Regions from separate parts of the Homo sapiens genome. Here region 1 is linked to region 2. The links are contacts of gene promoters, found by promoter capture Hi-C in blood cells and fetal thymus (Javierre and others, 2016). All regions are on one chromosome and are shown on one strand. The core of a region is centred on a gene start or on the middle of the fragment in contact, and the rest is flanking DNA. Distances in the headings are between cores, read along the strand shown. Region 1 holds the start of TUBE1 (tubulin epsilon 1). Region 2 holds the start of TSPYL1 (TSPY like 1).

The links. Contacts are between HindIII fragments. The CHiCAGO score rates a contact against its expected background, and 5 or more counts as called.
Region 1: a contact is called between the fragment with the promoter of TUBE1 here and the fragment with the promoter of TSPYL1 in region 2, in 1 of 17 cell types (total CD4 T cells). The highest score is 6.6, in total CD4 T cells.

The regions. Positions count from the first base shown.
Region 1 is chr6:112,086,091-112,091,307 of GRCh38, forward strand. TUBE1 (tubulin epsilon 1) reads right to left here and starts at 1,392. Exons shown (of 12, transcript NM_016262.5): 1 at 1,320-1,392; 2 at 1,143-1,216; 3 at 466-518. The coding sequence starts at 1,344. It overlaps FAM229B (family with sequence similarity 229 member B), which reads left to right and starts at 1,501. Exons shown (of 4, transcript NM_001033564.3): 1 at 1,501-1,630. RefSeq lists enhancers at 922-971, 1,106-1,637, 1,372-1,561. The HindIII fragment of the contact is 2,028 bases long and covers 1-2,021 here.
Region 2 is chr6:116,277,684-116,282,732 of GRCh38, forward strand. It overlaps TSPYL1 (TSPY like 1), which reads right to left and starts at 2,247. Exons shown (of 1, transcript NM_003309.4): 1 at 1-2,247. The coding sequence starts at 2,147. The coding sequence ends at 834. It also overlaps a transcript of DSE not described here. RefSeq lists enhancers at 1,611-1,660, 1,681-1,950, 2,181-2,240. The HindIII fragment of the contact is 6,415 bases long and covers 1-3,576 here.

The sequences.
Region 1 (5,217 bases), core at 142-2,641, 4.2 Mb before region 2:
GGAGATATCCTAAACGGCAACTTAAATTACTCTTCCAGATAAAACATATATGGTACTTACATATACTCTTTATTAAATAAACAAAAACAATCCAACAACTGCTTGTCACCTTTTTAAGTATATTTTTATACTTACAGCATATATGTAAACAATATATTTTTCTTTCAAAAGTTAGTTATTACAGGATGCATTAACAAGATGCCCTCTGGGAAAATTTCAGCTTTCTTTTAATGAAACTTATTTCAAGGTTAAGTTAAAAGAAGTCACACTAAAGGGAAATCTGTTGTCTTCTTCGGGAAAATGATATAAGAATATTAATAATCTAATAGAATAAATATGCTTTCAATAATGAAACAAAAAAACACAACTTCGCAGCTGGCTATTTTTATTGTCCTTTGAAGAATTCTCTCCCAAGCTACTGAAACTTAAAGTATCACACTGTGACAGACTTTAATCCCATCTTACCTGGTGTCCACATTTCTAAAGAAGCTGCTTATTGCCTCATCATAAATTCCTTTCTAAAAAGAAAAACATATGTTAATAGCATTTAGGTTTTGCTTCTCGCCCAAATCAAGTTCTTTCAATTTTAATTACATAATACTGTAATGGCTAGGATGAGACTCTGATAAGAAAAACCAAGTATCACAAAATGCGGAGCCTGACTCTTCCCAATCTCCTTAGAAGAGTAAATGCCAGATCTACAGATAAAAAGTTCAGCAGGGGGTGCTAAAGAAAGGATTTCACCCATAGGACTGTAGGACAGGTCCATCAAATGAGCGTTCTCTGGATTCTTCGTAATCTTTTTAAAAGCTGACTGGTTAAATTAAGGAATACAATAACCACACGTGTTATCTATTTTACAAAGTACTTTCCCATATACAAATCTCACTGTTCTGCACACGAACACCAATAAAGAGGAGACCCTGAGAATCAGGAAAAACGTTAAGACTAAGGTCGCTGGCCAGTGTTCTTTTAGTTTAGTGTGTGTCTGACGCAACATGTTTAAAAACCAGTACGTTCTTTACTGGGAAGATCCCATGCATCTTAAACGGGTCAGATGAAAGCTCAAGTCGATTATTTCCTGCGTATGGGCTGGAAGACCTAGCTGACAGGCGAGGGGGCTCGCGGCGGCGGGCGGGTACCTGGTTGACCGCGGCGTGCTCCCTTAGTGCCAGGTCCCAGAAGCAGCAGCCGATCTGGTTTCCGCACTGGCCGACTGCGACCGGAGGAGAGGAAGGAAAGAGAATAGGACATTAAGCAGGAAACATGGCCGCTGGATTCCGCGGCGACCAGGTCTCTACCCGCCCGGCGTAGCTTACCCTGTACGACCACCGACTGGGTCATGGTGGTGCGCCGCCGGCTCCGGGAGCTTGCTAGCCCGCGGCCGCTTCTGCATTCCCCCAGCAACGGCGCTCTGCTAGAGAGCTGCCGTAAGTCACGCTACTGCCGCAAGCCTCTGCCGTCGCTAAGCACGTCTGTAGGTTCAGGCTAAGGTTTTCCGTCAGAAGGCCGCGCAAGTGCACTTGCGTGTCACCGTTACCGTAGCGACTGGGCTTCTGGACTGTATATCCTAGCTGCCTTGTCAACATCTTCGAGCATCGGCAGCTCCGGAGGCCGGGGTAACTGGCAGGTAACTAGGCTTTGGAGTGGTATTTTAAAATATGTGTCGTTAAGCTGTTCGTGGGCTATCAGAGGTTTAATTTTTGTTCACAGCCTCAACACCCGGGGCGGTGGATCAGTCCGTTTATTCAGATTCCACGGGACGCTGCGTTGGCATCTCTGTTCAACAAGCCCTTTATTCTAATAGAAAATGAACAATGGCGTTGAGCAAAGAGAAACCCCAGAGAAATAGTCATGTCAGGGCACAATTGAAACTAGATGGTTATACGCTTTGACAAAAATGGCAAAGCTAAGGTCACAGACCCAACCAGTATTTGTTGAACGCTGTATACTCCCCAAATTAACTTGTAGGCTCGCTGGGAAGATTAGAAAGAAATTAAGGCATAGATCCAGTTCCAAGAAGCTTACAATCTAATTGAAGACATACACGCGAAATACTTAAAGAATTGTGTGGCGTTGACTATAAGTGCAATAGGATTCAGTGGTTGAGGATGTAGATGAGTATGTAGAAGTCTGATAGAAGACACGAGATTAACACTAGGCATTTAGATGGGTATTTAGATGGGATAGGCAGGAGAAGATTAAAAAGTTAGGCATTATGACAATTACCAACTACTTAAAATTGTCAAACATTAAAATATGTAAACTTCTATTGATCAAATTAGACCAGATTTTAATTAAGAACTCAAGTACTTCTTTAATGAAATTAATATTTTCCACAAAAATTCTGAAGAACTACGAAACTCTAAGAAGTCTTCTTTGTTTAATAAAAAGTTATATGGTATGTGCTATGAATATGTGCTAATATGAACTGTAATATTCAATGGATTAGAACACTTTATTGTCCCACCAAGACACGTAGTAGTTACTATTAAATTTCTCTGGTAGCCGGTAGGTTTAAAGTTGCAATGGATTTTATATCTTTTGGTAATAGGCAGCTTTCGGTCAGTAAATTTTTGTAGGCTGGATTTATTCTTAACTTCTTACTGAGTATGGGGTCAGTGGTAGAGGTAAAGTTGGGCATTTTAGGTCTTGATGCTAAAGTCCCAACGTCTGGGGCTTCCAAAATTTGCAAGTCTTGGTCCAGTTTGTAGGCAGTGATGTGAATAGGTCTGTATCAGTGTGTTATCAGTGCTAGGTGAGATGATACACTGGCCTTTGCAGAGCCCTACCCTTCATGCAGTCCCAGTCATTATTCCCCACACAGGAAAGAAAAGTCCTAACACATCTTATTAATAACTTCAGTCTCTAGAGAATCAGACTGAGAGACAGTTCTGCTTAAGAGCCAAGCAAGGTAGAGCCTCACATGCCAGCCACTCCAAAACTTCCGTATATGCAAACCCGGGTGAGCCAAGTTGAGATCGGTTGAACCGCAGCGGGCTATTCAGAATATTATAAGCAAGAGAAATGTTTTTGGTTGAAATTACTGAAATTTTGGGGTGCAGTTTTATTGTAGTGATAGCTGACCAACATACAGAGCAAATAGAGTGAACAGAATTCCACATGCTGAAAATGAAAAAGAAAAAAATTATTGGGAATCCTATGGACTCCTAAAATTGAAGGAAGGAAGACAAGGATGGAAGGGAGAGAGGGAGGGAAGGGGGAGAGGAAGGAAGGAACGATGTAAAAGATGGATAAAGTACAAGACCTTGGGGTAAAACCTAGCCTAAGAGGGGAGAAAAGAAAATTCATCATATCTACTTTGTGCTGAAGAAGAACTTAAGAATATGAATGCAATAAAACAGGAACTTAAAGACAAGATACTAAAATAATAAGACTCAAGCTCTATGAGGGCTGAGTCTTGTTGTTTTATCCACTACTAGGGATAGTACCTTGCATATAGTAGATAGTAAATAAATATTTGATGAATAAATGAAATAAAATGGAGATAAAAGAACTAAGGAAATTAACTGAAGACAACAACATCCACCTTAAAGGACTTAAAGAAATAATTTTTAAAAGCATTTAAGAAGCAGACTAGAGAGATGCACATCAAATTATAATGTAGAGGAAAGTCTTAAAATAATAACAATACTAGGCAAAACCCAGAGATATGAAAGTTATTAAAAATAATATGTATGAAGGAGACAAAGATGGCTCAACATAAGATTAACATGTGCCCACAGCAAATGGAGGAAAAAATGTACTTGATAAAAAAAAAGGAAGAAAAATACATAGATTAAAAGGATACACACTATGTTCTATAGGACAATTTATAGAAAAATCAACACCAAGACATGCAGCCTCATTAAGGCATTCAACTTTTCAGAATAAAGAGAGAATTTTTTAGGTACCTAGGCATGAAATGAACGGGGGAGTGGGATGAAGAAAAAACAATTAATTAGAGTACTTTAGACTCATCTATATAGCACATTCAGTACTGGAAGGCATTGAAAACATGCTGCAAAGTTCTGAAGGGGAATAAAATGTTTTAGAAGAAAATTATTCTGTAGCTTTTGTAAGTTGTCATTAAAATATAATTCAGAGTTGTGGGTGGTCTGTTTTTATTCTTGCTTGCACACCGCCATTTCTGAGCTCATCTCTTTCTCATATAACTTGACAAACAGTAGCAACTGACATGTTATTGTTTTCCAGCCTCTTCTCCCAACATTTAAATTCATTAGTTAAATCACATGCCTTCTAGGTTATCACAGAGTTTTCCAAAGATTTTTCCCAATAGGTTTGTTCCTGGGTGACATAGATCACTATCCTTTTAGCTTTCCACAACAGTTTCCTTGTTAATTGCTGCTTGACCACTTAGGTATGGTGACTTATATTTTAGATTTTTGTTATAGCGGTACCTAAGTCTGGACCAAAGTCTGTATACATCAGCATAAACTTTGTTGTGCTGTGGTAACAATCAACCCCAAAATCTCAGTGGTGTAAAACAACAATTTTTTTTTTGTACATGATACATGTCCATTGAGGGGTGTCTGGGGGCTATGCTTTATGTTATCCCCCTTCTGGCACTCAGGCTGATGATCTGCCATTATTTGGTCCATTTTTGATTTGTTTGATTTTAAATTGATTAATTATTGTGTATATTAATGGGGTACAGTTGATTTTTTGATAAATATTTACATTGTGGAATGATTAAATCAATCTGATTAACATATCCATCATTTCACATACTCAGAATTTTTTTGTGATGAGAACATTTAAAATCTGCTCTTTTAGCAGTTCTGAAATATATATTATTAATAACTAGTCACCATGCTATGTAATAGATCTATAAAACTTATTCCTCCTAACTGAAACTTATTGTATCCGTTGGACATCTTTCTGATCTCTATCCCTGTCCCACCCTCCAGCTTTGCTACCCTCTGGTAACCACCATTCTACTCTCTACTTTTATGAGCTTGACTTTTTTAGATTCCACATCTAAGTGGAGTGTTTCTCTTTCTGTGGCTGGCTAATATCACTTAGCATAATGTCCTCCAGGTTTATCCATGTTGTCACAAATGACGGCATTTTCTTCTTTTTTAAGGCTGAATAGTATTCCATTGTGTATATATACCACATTTTCTTTATCTGTTTCTTTATTTGTTAGAGAGTATGCAAAAACAAAGCTCTGAAAATCTTTAAGGAGTTCCTCAT
Region 2 (5,049 bases), core at 997-3,496:
CACGAGATCGGGGTTCGAGACCAGCCTGGCCAGCATGGTGAAACCCCGTCTCTACTAAAAATATAAAAATTAGCCGGGCGTGGCGGCGCGCGCCTGTAGTCCCAGCTACTCGGGAGGCTGAGGCAGGAGAATCGCTTGAACCCGGGAGGTGGAGGTTGCAGTGAGCCGAGATCGCGCCACTGCACTCCAACCTGGGCGACAGAGCAAGACTCCGTCCTCCGTCTCAAAAAAAAAAAAAAAAAAAAAAAAAAGGAAAACAGGGAGAGAGAGGGACCTTGGCAGGAGCCAATGTAGGGCAGGTAGCAATAGAAAGTGACTAGAGGTGAAGGAAGAGCAATGAAGTACCATAAATCACACAGAACAAGTGGCTCACTGCTTTTCTCCTCTGAGTTCATTAACGTCCAGTAACTGTCCACAGGGCATGTGCCCATACTGCTCAATGCAGAGCTGAGTAGGTGGAACAGGCTCCCAAAGCTAGAAATCCAAGTGACAGCAACCAGTTCAGAGGCCCTGGGAATAAACAGGGTCCAAGCAGTGCAGATAAAGGCAGTACAATCTACAGTATCATTTGCTTGGCTTACAAGTAGTGTGAAGGATGACCTCGTAGCATGTGATATTCCAGAACAGCATGAAGGTCATATGGAAGTGGAGAAGCATACCCACCACCGTCTCAATCTTGAGGTTGAGAGAACTGAATATCCAAAGGAAACAGGGTGCAGAAAAGTCAGCAAAAACAAAGCACAATAGAAGGCATACTCATTGCTGATGCCCAAGCACAGGTCCAGCAGAAGGTGGTAGGAGACCTTGTGCAGGAGTATTCCCAAGGGCAAATGTTAACCAGACTGGAACCCAAAGGGCCTGGGGATCTCTACAGGCTCCCTTAGCGGGCGACGTCGGGCTCTACGGACTCCTTCACGCAACAGGTAGTATTGCAGTGGATTTGGCCACAGATCCTCTTTAATAATCTCAGCAATTTTGTCGGACTCTGGAAGGCTGTGGTCTGAAAACCAAGTGAAGAAGCTGCAGATGAGGTCTTGGTTTCTGCGAATGAAGGACTGGGGTTCATGCCCCCTGCGCCATATAATTGGAGTAGAAAGAGACACCACTCGGCCGGAGGATCTTACCTCATATTCCTTGACAATCAGCTTGTTTCTGAAGTAGGGGTTTCTTCTAAAGAAGAACTTGAACTTGCAACCGGTTCTAGGGTGTCTGAGTTCCTTCACCTCTAAATTGGTTATGTACCTTAACATCTCTGCATCTTGGCCCCTAATCATGGCGGACAACTGGGGGTGGTTTCGAAAAGCAGTCATCCAGAAGCCCGGGATATTCTGAATGATGTAGTTCCTCCGCTCCAGGTAGTGTCGACGCATCCGCCCAAACTTGTGCTCCAGCTGTTGGAAGGCCCTGTCGGCCTGAGCATTCACAGTGTCCAGTTCCAGCTGGATGGCCTCCAGAGGGTCCATGCGGAGAGCCTCATGCAAAGGCCAGGGCCCTTCTTCCTCCCTCGCCTCCTCCTCCAATCTATCCTCCTCCGCCACTTCTATTTCTTCACCTTCTGGCGGCTGCTCCTCTACCTCCATCTGCTCCTCCATTACCTCCTTCTCCGCCAGGCCTTCCTTCACCACCTCAGCGCTCTCCCTCTCAGCCACGGCTGCTGAGACGGTGGCGCACTTTCCTGTCTTCACCTCCTCCGCCTCAGCCTCCGCCCCCGCCGTCAGCTCAGACGCGGATCTCTGGGCGCCACAGATTTCTAGGGCCTTCTCTCCACCCTGAACGCCCTTTTTCAGGCTGCGGTCGGCTGCCATCACCACAGAAGCGGCTGCCAGGCCTTCGGCGGGAGGCTGGCCCTCTTCCTGCCCGGCTTTGATCGCCACATGACCGCGACCCCCAACAACTCGGATCTGGGGAGTACCGCCACGGCCCGCGGCATCCTGGGGTACGCCCCCCTCCTCTGAAGGCGGTGGAGGCGGGAGCGCGACGGTCTCCGAGCCTCCCTCACCCGGCTCCGCCATCACCTGTGTCGCCTCGCTTTGGTCGCGGAGCCTCAGGTACTGGTGTGCGTCCTGGTCGCTCGGGACTTGGTCAGAAATAATGATGCTGTGGGTTTGGAGGGGAGTGGTCCTCTTGACCCCATCCAGGCCGCTCATGTTGCTAACAGTCGGACCAACCGCAGGCGAACGCCCGTTTTCCTCAGAGGCCGAACTGGGAGCTAACCGCCGCTCGCACCGCCCACCCTACAGTCTCACTAACATTTCAGCGGCGGTGTCGTCAGGACTGGAGATCTCACGGTATCGCGAGAACTTGCTGAGCCCGGGATTGGTTCCGCCGCTCCCTGCCAGCCAACCGGATTCTCTGGGCTTTATTTCTGTGAATTTACCCATAGCAACAGTAATTTTACCTACGTAAATAAATGTCGATTGTGCTGAGTCTGGAAGCGCGGACGACCCACCTTGAGATGCATCTAGCGACTGCTCCCAGCATGTAGGAGCAGTTGTAAAATCACAGCCGTAACAGTGCCTGCTCTCCAGTGTCTGAAAACAAATGTTTTTCTGGTCTTCACTTTTTTGAGGCAGGAAGGTAAATCTATTCCCTGTTACTCCACGTAACTAGCAGCAAAAGACTTCTCTTTAAGATTAATAGCAAAATGTTTCCCCCCTTCTTAGTAAAAGTGACATAAAAATATCAATTCTTGCCTCTACGGTTACTGGGGAAAAAAAGCTACTCAGCAGCCTCTTACCACTAAAGCGATGCATAGTATTCATTGCTAATTTTCGATTTATAATCTGCATCAAATAAGAGTTTGTGCTGCATAGTATCGGTAGAAATTAAGCCAGGATCAGTTTGCTAAATGTTCCATGCCTTTTCACTGCAAGAAAGAGGAAATTATAACTATTTCCAGCCCCAAGAACTTAATTTATTATCATATTTAGTTATGTAAGATAGGAATGTTTGGCTCTAACGAAGCATCTGTCTTTAGCAATCAGCTGAGTTCATTAGAGGGGGATGTCAATGTCTCTGGTTGAAGTGTTCCAGTTTGTTGACTTGTGAGTTAAACTGGTGCTGTCTTAGAGAGCTACAAGGCCTCAGAGAAATATCAGTGGGGGGAGCCACATACCACCATTTTGTGAGGAAAGGCTAGTTAAAATGGACAACTAAGATGGCCTTGAAGTAGAAAACAAACTTGCAAAGGGCAACATGCAGCTGGTGGACTCAAGGTATAAAAGAGGCAAACGTTATTTTCTACTTAATTTGCTTTGTGTGGTAGTAGCCTGATGGCCCTCAAAGATGTACCTGTCTTAGTTATGCGGCCAAAGGGACTTCGCAGATATGATTAAGTTAAAGATTTGGAGATGAGAAGATGATTCTGGATTATACAGGTGGGCCCTATGGAATTACAAATTTCTTATAAGAAGGAGGCAGGAGGGTCAGTCAGAGAAGATAAGAGGACGAAAGCACAGAGAGAGGGAAGGAATGGTGGAGAATAGGTGTGGGAGGGAGGAAAGGGAAATCGCTATGTTGCTGGCTTTGAAGATGGAGGAAGGAGCCAGGATCGTAGGAATAAAGGCAGCCTCTAGAAGCTTGAAAGGTAAGGAAATAGATTCAATCCTAGAGCCTCCAAAGGAATGACAACACCTTGAGGTTATTACCTCTAAACTCCAGCACTATAAGAAAATAAATTTGTGCATTTTAAGCTATTAAATTTGTGGTAATTTGTTACAGAAGCAATATGAAATGAATACACCTTGGATTAAGGTTTGGTTGCATCTATGGGTGCCTCAAGTTGTTTCTAATAGCAGCCCCTTCTACCTTGCTCATGGCTTCCCGTGAGTTCCTGCCCAACAGCTGTGATGTATTACAGCTTGAATCTGTCTTTCAATATCAAGACCAGAAATATACTTAGGCAAATGCACAGAAAGACAAAATTAAAGCCTAAACATACCACAAACGATATCTGAGGAGACTGTAAACTGCAAGAGGACATGATCATGGTTTCGTTTCCCTCTGTTTATCGAGTGCCTAGCACACTACCTTACACAGTATCCCATAGATTATTAAAATGTTAAATAAAGGAGCAAATGAGCAGAAAACAGTTTCTCTTGCTTGCAACTTGCTCCTTGCGGAAGAGAAGTAAGGGGCATATGGGTTGTCACTCTGCTCTCCTTCCTATCTGCCACTGGCAAACCAGAGGGCTGCTCTATTCTATATAGTAACAGTTTCCTACTCAGGAGAATGAATTTCTATATATGTTTCAAAGGCTCTAAAAGGATAGGAAAAACACAGAGAAAACAATTTTATTTTACAAATAATTTAAGTTTGTGTGGTCACACTGTATGACAAACGAACTCTGAAAAGACCAGCATATTTAGGTGAGTTTACATATCAAAGCCTCGGACTACCAGCACTGTATTTCCAATTCTCTCCTTTCTGAAAAAGTCAAGGTAATCATTTCAGGCTTTACTTCGTTTCTGTCTACAGAAATATATAATGCATTTCTCTCTACAAGTGATGGAGCCTGTGATGCATGGCTGGAATTACTTTTGGTGTAAATAAAAAGGAATATTGGAACTTTCCACAAAGACTGTTTCTAATTGCCATGAAATCATCTTCTATTTTGAACTGGTATAATTTCATTCGGCCTAAAGTGGAAACTTCTATTATTCCAATATGTCTCCTATTTTTTTTTAAGCAGAAAGGAGTGTCAGGCTTGGACCAATCTTAGAATATATGGCTTTATTTGTCAAAGAAGCCATTATGTAATTAATGTAATTAACACTCTTACCAGTAATGCTAGGAAAACTCTAATTAGGATCATGTAAGTATAATCAGGACTCTGCTGAATGTAATTTCCCCCAAATAACGTTGAGACTCTTTAAAGGAACTCTTCCTTCTCTTCTTGTCGAACATGTATAAAGCTGTGATAAGGAATATTTGAATATATAGAGAACGTGATTTAAAATTAGAAGTAATGTATCTCATGTTCTCTGTGTATTAGAAGAAAATTACATTAGAGAAGTGATTGTGATTATAACTATTCCTTGTAGGTGATGG